Linked DNA regions of Homo sapiens: regions 1 and 3 are each linked to region 2. The links are contacts of gene promoters, found by promoter capture Hi-C in human tissues and cell types (Jung and others, 2019). All regions are on one chromosome and are shown on one strand. Each heading gives the region's core, a stretch centred on a gene start or on the middle of the fragment in contact. The rest is flanking DNA. Distances are from core to core; before and after follow the strand shown.

What was found. Contacts are between HindIII fragments. The study calls those that stand out against the background at their distance.
Region 1: a contact is called between a fragment that was not itself captured here and the fragment with the promoter of CCNE2 in region 2, in 1 of the 25 tissues and cell types used here (lymphoblastoid cells).
Region 3: a contact is called between a fragment that was not itself captured here and the fragment with the promoter of CCNE2 in region 2, in 1 of the 25 tissues and cell types used here (thymus).

What each region holds. Positions count from the first base shown.
Region 1 is chr8:95,233,623-95,237,664 of GRCh38, reverse strand. No RefSeq gene overlaps it. Among named protein-coding and RNA genes, the nearest start is that of LINC01298, 19 kb to the right of the region's middle. The HindIII fragment of the contact is 6,913 bases long and covers 1-4,042 here.
Region 2 is chr8:94,893,858-94,898,295 of GRCh38, reverse strand. It overlaps CCNE2 (cyclin E2), which reads left to right and starts at 3,095. Exons shown (of 12, transcript NM_057749.3): 1 at 3,095-3,119; 2 at 4,049-4,088; 3 at 4,177-4,273; 4 at 4,352-4,405. The coding sequence starts at 4,075. It also overlaps a transcript of NDUFAF6 not described here. RefSeq lists silencers at 1,506-1,725, 2,006-2,055, 2,226-2,275, 2,406-2,505, 2,886-3,105 and an enhancer at 3,722-4,283. The HindIII fragment of the contact is 13,775 bases long and covers 1-4,438 here.
Region 3 is chr8:94,609,516-94,613,656 of GRCh38, reverse strand. No RefSeq gene overlaps it. Among named protein-coding and RNA genes, the nearest start is that of LINC02894, 28 kb to the left of the region's middle. The HindIII fragment of the contact is 7,585 bases long and covers 1-4,141 here.

The DNA of each region.
Region 1 (4,042 bases), core at 70-2,569, 340 kb before region 2:
TGGGCTTTAGTATCCTCACCTATTAAAAAACAATTCTCTAAGAGTCCTTACTGCCAGTATAAAAATATGAGGTTATACTAAGTGATTTTTAATGTCCCTCCCAGAATAAAAGTTCCATGAATCTCTTTTCATAATGTAATCATTCAGAAAAGATTATTTCATTTAGGTTGAGTGTGTATTATGATCAATGTTTCTTTTAGTCCCCTAGAAACAGTCAATGCCAACTTCAAGGTTTGAGTTCCCTAATGACCAATTCACTTTACACAGAAAAAAGTAACAGCCTCCAAAGGTTGACAATACCAATTCCTCCCACTAGGAGAAGTATCTTAGAGTGCGTGGCCCTCTAGAAAGTGAGTCACTGGCACCATCTTCCATTGCAAAGAGCAGCACTTATTAGCAATGTTAGATAGAAAGCAGGACTCTAGAAAGTGGATGGAAAAAATAAAGAAAGTACATAACATAGAAACCATTTTAAGTTCTTAGAGTCAAGTAAAATTGACATTCACAGGTATGTAGGAAAAATTGTAAAAGATCTCTCAAAGAATATAATGTTTTATCCTTACATAATTTTTTGAGGGATGGGGGATTAGACAAGAGTTTTCCCCATGGAGTAAGGTATATTCTATCATAAATAGCTATAGCCTCAGCCTCTGGTGGTGGAAGGACCCCACAAACGCTTTTCAAGTCCCTTCCATCTGGCCTTGGTTTTCCTCCACAGCTGACTATGCACTAAAGGACTTCTTTCCACTCTTTCCACTCAGATTTTAAGGAACAGTTTTAGGTATTGTATTCGGTTACTAGCACAAATTTATTCTGAAATAGCCTAGGTCCAGTGATAAATCAAGGGAGTGAGAAGGAAAGGATTTGCATGGCCCATGACCCTGCCCCCAACCTTGAAGGCACAGATAATGTGTGCACTCATGATGCTCAGCACCACGTCCTCGGCAAAGGAGCTCCAGGCCACTTCTTGCCTTTGCCCCTGTTAATAAGCAGAGTCTCACATTAACAGGCTGCTGCATTGTGTGAGGTTATGAGCACAGGCCTGGGGTTAGACTGCCTTGATTTGAATACTGGCCCTATACCTTATGTGGCATGTGATGTTCTACAGGCCACGCATCCTCCCTAAGCCTCTTCTCCCCAGCCTGTGCAACAGGGTTAAGAATGCTCACCTCACAGAGAGTGATGCTGGGAGGAAGTGGATGGGATAATCTATGTAGAGCATTTAGCGAGGCTCCTGGCACATAGTAATTACTTAATACGTGTGAATTATTTGCTGAGATCTCTGTACAATGTAAAAATGCATACCTTAAAGATGGCTTTCTGCCATGATTCTACATAGGTTTTTTCCTTCAACATTCTTCTTTTTTTGCCTTAAAATGTTTAATTCCCACCAACTTTCATCTTACAACAGGAGGCTCAAAGTGACAGATTTAAAGAGAGCCTTCAAAGCGAGGACCATTTCACTTAAATGCCCACCTGCACTGTGCTAGGCATGGCAGTGGACCCAGAGGTGCCAGACACCAGACAGGAGCAAGGGTTGGCAAAACATGGGTCATTTCCTAAGGCATTGTAATCATTGGTCTTTTACGTAAGGTGTCTTTGACTCTGCTCAGTACCAGACATCAAGTACTACAGGCATAGTCCGTGTGTTTAGGCTGTTTCACAACTGAGTGAAATTCAACAGTGGCCATCCCCCTGTTGCTCATCATTGATTGTAATGTGACCAAAATGGAAACTGCTAACCTATGTGTCAATGCTTGTGCTGGAAACATACTGCTTCCAGATAGGGGGAAAAAAGCAATTCAGTTAAACGTCTCTTTTATGGTCTATAATTCTTACTGCAACTTCAGGTCGGCTGTTGCGTCATCAAGTCACATTCTGAACCCAACTCTGGCTGTTTCTCAGGCCTGAGGGACCCAGCAAAGGAGGGAGGTCCTGAAGCAGCCTTTCCAGGGGTAGAGTTAGTGACTTACAGCGAAGAAGAAAGAGACAAATTTGTCTCCAGGGACTCAGGGTTGTAAAAGACCCACCATCCTGAGCCCTCCAAACAGTGAAACAAGTTGAGAATCTAACCCATAGCGGGCAGACCTACACTGAGGACCAGATCTCATTTCTTTGTTGGGCTTTGGTCTCTCAGGAAAAGCACCCAGAACACTTCATCCAAATCTGCCTGCTGTTAACAATATCCCATAGTGGTGGAGGTAAATGTTTTTCTCTGGCTGAAAATAGAAATCCTCCCTAGCGTAAACCCCCTGTCTTTGCTTTTAGGAGAAAAGGATAGGCACCAAATATTAGGATCTTTCCAGGGAAGTTTACCAGCCCTTTCTACACAGAAGCACTTGTCATCTTGAGCTTGTGAGCTTGAGCTTGAGCGTAAGCTTGTGGGCTTGAGCTTTCTTTCTGGGAAAGAAAAATTGGAACCTTCTAACTGATTCACTTAAATAATCAATTCCGTAGCACTTAAAGGAATCTAAGTGGATCTAAAGTTAAAGAGAAACAATGAAATGATTCCTCACTCACAATGAAAGGTTGAAAATCGAGGTAACGACCTTGGTGAGCAGAGAGAGGAAATCGCAAGGGCAAGTGGGTTAATGCTGATGGGCTTTTTGAGACCAGGAAACCATATCTTCATGACCTTTGAGCATGATTGTTCAGCACAAATATTTCCAGAGTACAGTGATTTGGTTTTGTTTTTAATAGTTGTTGCTTTTTTTGATGGACTGAAAAACAAAATGAAAAATTATTTCATGTTCTCACTTTTTTGTGCATTGAAATATAGTACATAAAAAGCAGAAATCCCTCCATTATCCCAAGAGAAAAACACTGCTCATTTAGTGTCTGTCCTTCCAGATTTGGGGATGAATGGATGGATAGATGATAGAGATATTTACTGAAATATTTTTCTTAACGAAAATGGGTCCTGTCCTGTATATTATCCTGCCATTTGCTTTTGTTTTACTAAACAGCATATCATGGCCGTCTTTCCTGGCCAATATACACATATTTCTTAGAATGGCTTTGTGGTATTCATGATGTGGGTGTTCCATGAGTTCTCTAACCCTTCTTCTGTTTATGGAGATCTTGGTTTCAGTATTCTCCTGTTATAAAAAATGCTTCAGGGAATATCTTTGTACATATATTGGTACACATGCTTGCTAGTATTTCCTTAGAAACAGATTATTAAAAGTGGTACTGCTAGGCAGAGATTATGCATTTCTAACAAGCTTCAAGGTGATGCCTGTTTGCTGTTCTGTGGACCATATTTTGAGCAGCAAGGCCATGGATGTAGTCTGCCCTGCAACAAATTCAACTAATCAGATCAGCATGCCGTAGAGGCCACATGTGGGCATTCTGGTGGATAGTGCCAGTGGAGCCCACTCTTGCCAACTTCAGTGAAGCCATCTTGGGCCCTCCAGACCTGCCAATCTGCCATGCAAACACCAGCAAGTGACTTCAGCTGATGTGGAGCAGAAGCATTGCTGCACCAGGCCTGTCTGGTTTCATGGTTCATAGAATTGTGAGATGTATAATAAAATGGTAGTTCTGTTAAAACCCCACCCCAAAAACACAGGGATTGCTTGGTCATAGAATTTGCATGTTTTTAATTCAGATGATATTGCCAAATTACCTTTTCACAAGATTGTGTCAATTGCTATTAGTACAACTATGGATAAGAGCGACTAATATTTTTCCTAAAGGCATGGAAAGAGTCTGTGTTTGTTGAGCATTATTGACTGTTTAAAATATATTTTATCATGAAATATTTGAAATATACAGGAAACCACAGGGAATAGGATAAAATAATGGTTCAAACATTTTTGTTGGTTCTTGAGTCAAATTTAATGGTAATTCTGGCTGGACACACTGGCTTATGCCCATAATCCCAGCGCTTTGAGAGGCCGAGACAGGAGGATGGCTTGAGGCCAGGAGTTGAAGACCCTAGGTAACATACTGAGACCCATTTCTACAAAAAATGTTTTAAAATTAGTCTGGCATAGTCCTAGCTATGCAGGAGGCCAAGGCAGGTGGATTGCTTGAGCCC
Region 2 (4,438 bases), core at 1,846-4,345:
GACGAGATCCTAGAGCAATAAAAAGATATTAGGTAAAAACTAAAGACATAGGAATAAAGTATGGACTTTAGTTAATAATAACACATCGACATTGATTCATTAAATAGCAAACACATCATAGGGTAATAAATATGCCATACTATAAGATGTCAATAACAGGGGAAACTGTGCATGTGTGGTGGGTGGGAGAGGGGAGTGAGTATATGGAAGTCCTGTTCCACCTGCTCAATTTTTCTTTAAAACTGTTCTAAAAAATAAAGTCTATTAATGTTTTTAAAAGCCTGGTATTTATTGGGAATAATTCCACCATCCGTCTATCATCCATCATGGTAACCTAGAGACCTAAAATTCTATAATGGGATATCCTACATACAATTCAAATCAGCATTTACCCAAGTCCTACTATATATGCCTTTGAACTGCTGAATACTGGCTATAAAAAGATGAACAAAACAATTTCCGAGGTCGAGTTGGAAATAAAAGACATTTAAATAAGTAATTTTTGTCCTGTAAGATGAGCATAACTGTAGCACAGGGAAAAGGATCTGTGAAGCTTCGACAGAGGAGATATACAAAAAAAAAAAAAAAAGGCACAGAATAAAGAAATGGGTGGGCTAAGCCTGAATTTTTTTTTTTAAGCCTGTGCCTCCAAGCATCTTCTGGGGTTTTTTCCTCCTGAAAATGAATGTCGGAGCAATCAAAATAGTTACCCCAGAGAAGCATGGTAGAGGCCAACAGTTTATTTACCATGGTGTTTTAACTTTACATGTACAATAGGGGAAATATACTTTAGGTGAATTTTAAAACGGATAAGTAGGAAAAGAGCAAGCTAAAAACAAACATACCCGCCCCCTACCCTTTATTTTCTCTTTTTTTAACAGACCCACTTGTCTATTGACCAGGTATCTGTAATATGGGAGAATTCACTCTATTCCTTTCCACACAAAGACGTCTTGGAATTTTCTAATTTCTCCTTTACTATGATTGCATTCTGTTCACATAATAGTCAAGGGTATGGAAAGAACATTTATAAGAGCAGTGTCTTTTAAAATCAATTTACTAGTTAACTCAGTACTGAGCATACATTCATCATTCAAAGATGATTCCCACAAACGTTACTCGACATACTGGTTTTCAGTATATTTTATCAAATTCAACCACGAGGGCCACCAGTTCTGCTTACGATCAGGTGACCCTTGTTGGGAGACCCCTGACCCCTTTTCTTGACATCATGCTGTTAGACCTTTAAGCTAGCTATACCGCTAACTGCGTTTTGAGTGACTGCAAAAGGGAGGCAACTTCTGCCCCGCCGAGAGCCATCCTAAGCGTTAGAAATGGCAGAAAGTTTCTTGGGACTGACAAGGCATGGGCTTCTCCTGATGCTGTCACCTTGGGCAAAGCTCCTACAGGTAAATTAGGGAGAGAATTATTTTGCCGGCGTCACGAGACGAAGAATCGAAAAAGTGTGAAAAAGGACTTCGCCCGCCCCAAAGCGCCCATCCGGCGGCGGCTATTTCCCGGGCCTCAAGCGCGCTCGAGCGGCGCAGCACAAAAGGCCGGGCGGGAGCGGGGGTCGCCGGGCGCCGCCTCCCGGTGCATCTCGGGAAGGGCTCCCGCCCGCGAGGCTCCGTCTCCCCGGCGCGGCCCGCTCGCCGTCCGGCTCGCTCAGGGCCTGGGCAGACGCGGCCCGCCCGAGCTACCGCGGGTTCCGAGACGCCTTCGCACTGCTCCTCCACCCGGGGGATCTTTGTTCCCGGAGCTGTTCCCCGCCTCGCTGCTCCCGCCGCAAAACCTGTTTGCGGAATACCCGCCGCAAGTCTGACTTGACGATGTGCAGTTTTGGGGTGCGCCAGTTGTGGGGGCATTCATAGAGGCAGCGAAGGGACCCCTAAGTTTAAACACCCGGGGAAGGATAAAGGAAGAGCGTCGGGCCCCCCTCCTCCCAACAGCGCTCGGGCGCGAACGGCGCCCTCCCGCGCTGCCGGCTCGCGCGGGCTCCGCAGGGCGCGCTGGCGGCGGCGGCGGGGCGGGGCGCGGCAGGCGGGCCCGGGGCCTGCACGTGGTGGCGATCTTTCTTCCCACCCGGCCAGGTCCCCGGGGACCACCGCGCTCAGGGGGAGGAGGAATGCCGTTCCCGGGCCCCGCTCCGGAGAGGGGTTTTACCCTCTGGGATCCCGGAATTGGAGGTGGAGAAGAGAGGAAGCAAGGGAGGGCGCGGCGTGGCGCGAGCGTTTCCTGCGCGGGGACTGCGGGGTGGCAGCTGGAGGCCACTGCAGGGGCAGAGCGGCGGGTTGGGGGAGCGACCGACCCATGGGGAGGGAAACCCGGTAGGGGGAGCAGGGAGCCGGAAAGCAGGGTTGATACATACCTGGGTGGGCGGGCTGGAAATGCCTTCCCTGGGCGCGCCGCGCAAGGCCGGCGGAGCGGGCTCCGGGTGGTCGCGGACCGGGACTGGGGAGAGCAGAGCCGCACTTGGCCAGGCGCGTGGCTGAGTGGTGTTTACATTCTGCAGCCACTCCACGTTGTGCTGCCGCCCGTGCCTCCCATTGGCCAGCTCTTCAGCCAACGCTTTGCTCCTCCCCGAGGGGCGGGCCCTCGGGTCCCCGCGTCGCTCAGGAAAGACCTGGGTTCCCTGAGGCCTTGGCGGGACAGCTAGGGCGCGCCCCTGGACGGTCACTTCCCAGCCACCCTATGGTCGCCCGAGTCGTGTCCCCCTGTTATGCGCCCGGGCTGAGCCGCAGGCTGACACCCCCGAAATCCAGGAGTTGCAGTGGGAGGAAGCAAAAGCAAACTGGCGGGAGATGCGCGAGCCAGGCGGCGGGGAGAACAGCCGCGGAGAAGGAGCCCCTGAGAGTTTCCCTACCGCCGCCGGCCGCGCCGTGGAGCGCGGTGGACGCGGGCAGAAGGCCCGGTAGAGTGGACCCCACGGCCGCTCCGGGTGGCGGGCGCGCACTGAGAGCAGGGCGCGGCGCGCGGGCACGCGGGCGGACGGGCGGGAGAGGGGAGCGCGCTGTCCGGAGGTGTCAGTCTGAGGCGCATGCGTGCGGGGCGGGACCGGCCCGGCCTATATATTGGGTTGGCGCCGGCGCCAGCTGAGCCGAGCGGTAGCTGGTCTGGCGGTGAGGAGTTGCTGCGCGTAGGGGGGATGTGGGAGGAAAGAAAGCCCAGTTGGGCCGATCACTTACCACAGGCGGGAGCCTCAGGGAGGAAAATCGGGAGGGCTGAGAACTAGACGACTGGGGGTCATGGGTTCCCGCGTTCCGTCCCTGTCAGGAACCTTGGCAGGGGACCGGGAAGCGGCTGGGCATGGAGAGCCGCCCCTCATTCTAGGGGCTTCTCTATCCCACCCTCATTTGGGGAGCTATCCCGTGGGAGAGAGGATGGGAGGCCGGGTCCCCTCCATGGGGAGAAAAGTTCCCAGCCAGCCCAGTCTCCCCTTTCTTTAGCTCCTTTTCCTGCCCTCCCCCACGCCCTCCGCTTCCCATCTGGAGTTGGGGTCCCGGCGCCCCTCCGAGCGGCGGTAGGGCGGCAGGGCCGGGAAGGAGGGAAAGGAGACTGGAGGCCGTGACACCAGTCTTGGTTCCTCCGCCCCCTGCTTCCCCGCCACCGCCGCTCTCCAAATTGGCGCGGAACCGGCTTCTCCACAGCATTTCGCCTCCACAACCCCCTCTCCCCGCTGGTCCAGGAGGGAGGCGGGACGTGGGGGCGCTGCCCAAGCCCCACTCCCGGTGTACGGGGGAGAGGGTGGAGGACCCAGAAAAACCCGTTTGAGGAAGATGTGCCTCCCTGCGCGTTCAAGGTGTCAGGAGTGCTTGGTAAATTTTTGGACACTCGCGTTCCAGCTGTACATTCAGTTGAGGAAATGCAGGCTTGTATCCAAAATGAATTACCATGAGCTAGCTAACATAGCACAGAAGATGGCAGGGTCACAGGGCCCAGGCCCCCTTCGGAGGGACTGAGCTTTCACCTGCGAATCAGCGTCTTACTGGCACTTGGAGAATGTGAATGACAATGTACTTGACTGCGGCTTTTCCTCTCCCCCCTTCAGAGGTTTTATACACCTGAAAGAAGAGAATGTCAAGACGAAGGTAACATTATCTGTCTTAGAGACATGTTTCAAATTAGTTGCTGCCTTTAACTTACTAATTACACTTCCTTTTTAAAAATTCACTACAGTAGCCGTTTACAAGCTAAGCAGCAGCCCCAGCCCAGCCAGACGGAATCCCCCCAAGAAGCCCAGATAATCCAGGCCAAGAAGAGGAAAACTACCCAGGTGATTTAAGGAGAAAGAGGGAGGAACGAAATTCCATGCTGGGACTTTAGTTTACCAATGGTCTTTTCTATTTTCCAGGATGTCAAAAAAAGAAGAGAGGAGGTCACCAAGAAACATCAGTATGAAATTAGGGTAATGCAGAACTGGGCTGGGTGGGTTTGGGGG
Region 3 (4,141 bases), core at 799-3,298, 280 kb after region 2:
TTTTCTTGCGCATTTCATTTTAACTGGGATCAAAGCTTTAAGGTAAGGAAAGCGCAGCCTGGTAAGATTTTGGACATTAATTTACTGACTGAGGAGAATTTCTCCACCACTCCCCTGAAAAATCATACCTCCATTTCTACAGGCCACCCCCATTTTCTGTCTGTACTTGCTTCTGGTCTCCCTCCAACTTTCCTGGGAGGATCCCTCCGTAGACTGTTCTTCACTGGGTGGATTCACCCGGCTCTAAGAGATGTGTAAACGTCCAGGCTTACAGATCCTATTTTGCAGTAGCCACACCTTGGATATCCTTGTCAGAGGCAAAATCAGGGTCGGGGGTGGGGAGGGTGTGGGGGAAGTGGGAGTGGGGGCTGAGTTTCTTTCATGCGGCAGCTCAGCAGTCTTCAGTAGCCTGCTGCCACCTCAGCTCCAGGTCTGTCCACACCCTTATTCCGCCTACCAGCTGTGCCCAGCCCTTGCTTCCCGTACCTTTTCTGGCCCGTATTTTTTCTTGCTTTTTAGTTGGCGAGATGCCTAATTCAACCTCCAGCGTCTCCATTTCTGGAAACATTTCACAGTTGCTGCTGCCACAATTCTGCCCTCTAGTAGCTGAAACTGGAAACGCACGTGTCTGAGCCAGCCGCTATAGGAGCCATCATCTCAGCTATTCCGGAGGCTGAGGCGGGAGGATTGCTTGAGCCTGGCAGGTCGAGGCTGCAGTGAGCCGTGACTACGCCACTGCACTCCAGCCTGGACGACAGAGGGAGACCCTGTCTCTAAAAATAATAACAATAAACATGGCCGGTCGTGGGGGCTCACGCCGGCAGGCGGAGGCCGGAGGATTGCTTAAGCCCAGGAGTTCGAGCCCAGCCTGGGCAACATGGTGAAACCCGGTCTCGACAAAAAGTTTAAAAAATTCGCCGGGTGTGGTGGTGCATGCCTGTAGTCCTAGCTACTTGGGAGGCTGAGGTCAAAGGATCGCTTGAACTGGGAAAGTCGAGGCCACAGTGAGCTGAGACCATACCACTGCACTCCATAATAGACAACTGGAGTGAGGCTCTGTCTCTAATAATAATAATAATTGCTGTGCGCAGTGGCTCACGCCTGTAATCCCAGCACTTTGGGTGGCTGAGGCGGGTGGATCACGAGATCAGGAGTTTGAGACCAGCCTGGCTAATATGGTGAAACCCCGTCTCTACTAAAAATACAAAGTTAGCCAGGCATGGTGGTGTATGCCTGTAATCTCAGCTACTCCAGAGGCTGAGGCAGGAGAATGGCTTGAACCCAAGGGGCGGAGGTTTCAGTGAGCCAAGTCACGCCACTGCACTCCAGCCTGGGCGACAGAGCAAGACTCCATCCCAAAATAATATTAATAATAACAATAAAAAATAATAATTAAGTTAAATAATACAGTAAGACACATCTCTGACTGGAAAGACGGCACTTGCCTAGCAGCTCCCTCCTTCCTTGGCTACCCTTTCAGGAGGAACTTAAATGGTGGACAGTCTCTTAACTCAAGGGCGTTCAGGAGAACTGGCTAGAAAGAGAACTGTGGCATGGTGAAGGCAAGGTATTTCTGCATTCAAGCGACACTCTCCACCACCTCACCCCCTCAACGGTATGTTCCTTTCTTTTCTCCATAGCCTGTGTTCACGACAGATACTCCCAGGGACAGACAGAATGTTTTTTTGTTTTTGTTTTTGTTTTTGAGACGGAGTCTCGTTGTCGCCCAGGCTGGAGTGCAGTGGCGCGATCTCGGCTCACTGCAAGCTCTGCCTCCCGGGTTCACGCCATTCTCCTGCCTCAGCCTCCCGAGTAGCTGGGACTACAGGCCCCCGCCACCTCGCCGGGCTAATTTTTTGTATTTTTAGTAGAAACGGGGTTTCACCGTGTTAGCCAGGATGGTCTCGATTTCCTGACCTCGTGATCCTCCTGCCTTGGCCTCCCAAAATGCTGGGATTACAGGCGTGAGCCACCGCACCTGGCAGAAATTTTTTTGTTTTTTGTTTTTTATGAGACAGAGCCTCACTCTGTTGCCCAGGCTGGAGTGCAGTGGCATGCATGATCCTAGCTCACTGCAACCTCCACCTCCAGGGTTCAAGCAATTCTCCTGCCTCAGCCTCCGGAGTAGCTGAGATTACAGGGGCCTGCCACCACGCCCAGATAATTTTTATAGTTCTAGTAGAGACAGGGTTCCACCATGTTGGCCAGGCTGGTCTCACACTCCTGACCTCAGGTGATCCACCCACCTAGACCTCCCAAAGTTTTGGGATTACATGTGTGAGCCCCGGTGCCTGGCCCCAGATTGAAAATTTGATACCCCTTCTAGTTAACAGCTATACTGTCAGTGTTTGTTCGACATTTCCTTAGTGAGGGTGAAGAGAAACTAGTTTTCTATTAATAAAAATGACTCAAACTAAGGGATTTATAATGTAATTTTCCAAGCCCCCAAACTTCGTGGGAAGTATAAATTTTTTGCCATCCAGAGTTAACCACTATCCTGAGTACTATTACTATAGATTAGATTTGCCTGATGTTGAACTTCATATAAATGGAATCATATAACATGTGTTTTTTTGTGTCTGGCTTATTTTGTTTAGCAAGTTTTTGAGATTTATCCACCTGGTTGCATGTAATAGTTCTTTTTACTGATGAATAGTATTCTACGGTATGGATATACCACAATTTGCTTATTAATTTTCATATGGATGGACATTTAGACTGTTTCCAGATTTTTTTCAGGCAGTTTTGAATAAAGCTACTATAAACATTTGTGTACAACTCTTTTCATAGTTGTACATTTTATTTTGTCTTGGGAAATTACCTGATGAGTAGAATTGCTGCATCATAGAGTATACATTTAAATTCATTAGGAATTGCCAGTTTTCTGAAGTGGTTGTATCATTTTACATTTTGGGAGACATATTAAACCTGTTTTGTTTGTTTGTTTTGGGTTTGGTTTTGGTTTGGCATTGGGTTTTTTGAGGCGGAGTTTCGCTCTTGTTGCCCAGGCTGGAGTGCAGTGGTGCGATCTCAGCTCACTGCAACCTGAGCCTCCTGGGTTCAAGCGATTCTCTTGCCTCTGCCTCCTGAGTAGCTGGGATTACAGGCATGCGCCATCACGCCCAGCTAATTTTGTATTTTTAGTAGAGATGGGTTTTCTCCATGTTGGTCAGGCTAGTCTTGAACTCCCGATCTCAGATGATCTGCCCGCCTTGGGCTCCCAAAGTGTGGGGATTACAGGCGTGAGCCACTGCGCCTGGCCCTGATTTTTAATTTTTAAAACATAACACAAATACAGAAATAAGGCAAACACTTTGCTTTATATAATTTATTAAGTTGTATGTTAGTTTTCTTCTTTCTTTCTACATGAAAGAAGACAGAATCTTGCCAGTCACTCCAGAAGCCATTCATATTTTCATATACCTATCCCAAACAGAAATCCCCTCACCACAAAAACTATTTGCTGTCCTGACTTTTATGTTCATTGTTACCTTCTTTCTTTCTTTTTTTTTTTTTTTGAGACAGCGTCTTGCTCTGTCACCGAGGCACCCAGGTTGGAGTGCAGTGGCATGATCTCTGCTCACTACAAGCACCGCCTCCTGGGTTCACACCATTCTCCTGCCTCAGCCTCCCCCGTAGCTGGGACTACAGGTATCCACCACCACGCCTGGCTACTTTTTTTCTTTATTTTTAGTAGAGACAGGGTTTCGCCCATGTTGCCGGGGCTGGTCTTAAACTCCTGGGCTCGAAGGATTCACCTGCCTTGGCCTCCTGAAGTGCTGGGATTACAAACCTGCGCCACTGTGCCCAGCTTAATTGCAACCTTATAATATAGTTTGTTTATCATTATTCTCTGCCTGCTGTACTTCCTGCAAATTGATAATGGAATCCAGAGGTTTTATCAGATTCAGGTTTGATTTTTTTGAAAGAAGACTCCCGCATAGGTGTTGTCTTCTTCTTCGAGAAGCATATAATATCTGGCTGGTTCTCTTTTTGTGTTGCTAGCTTCCATTGTAGCGCATTTCATAACAGTTGCAAAATGATGATATTCCAATTCTATCAATCCTTCTTCATTTATTGTTGGAATGCTTCCATAAGAAGAAACTTCCCCTCATCACTTACTTGACTACTCCATGGTATA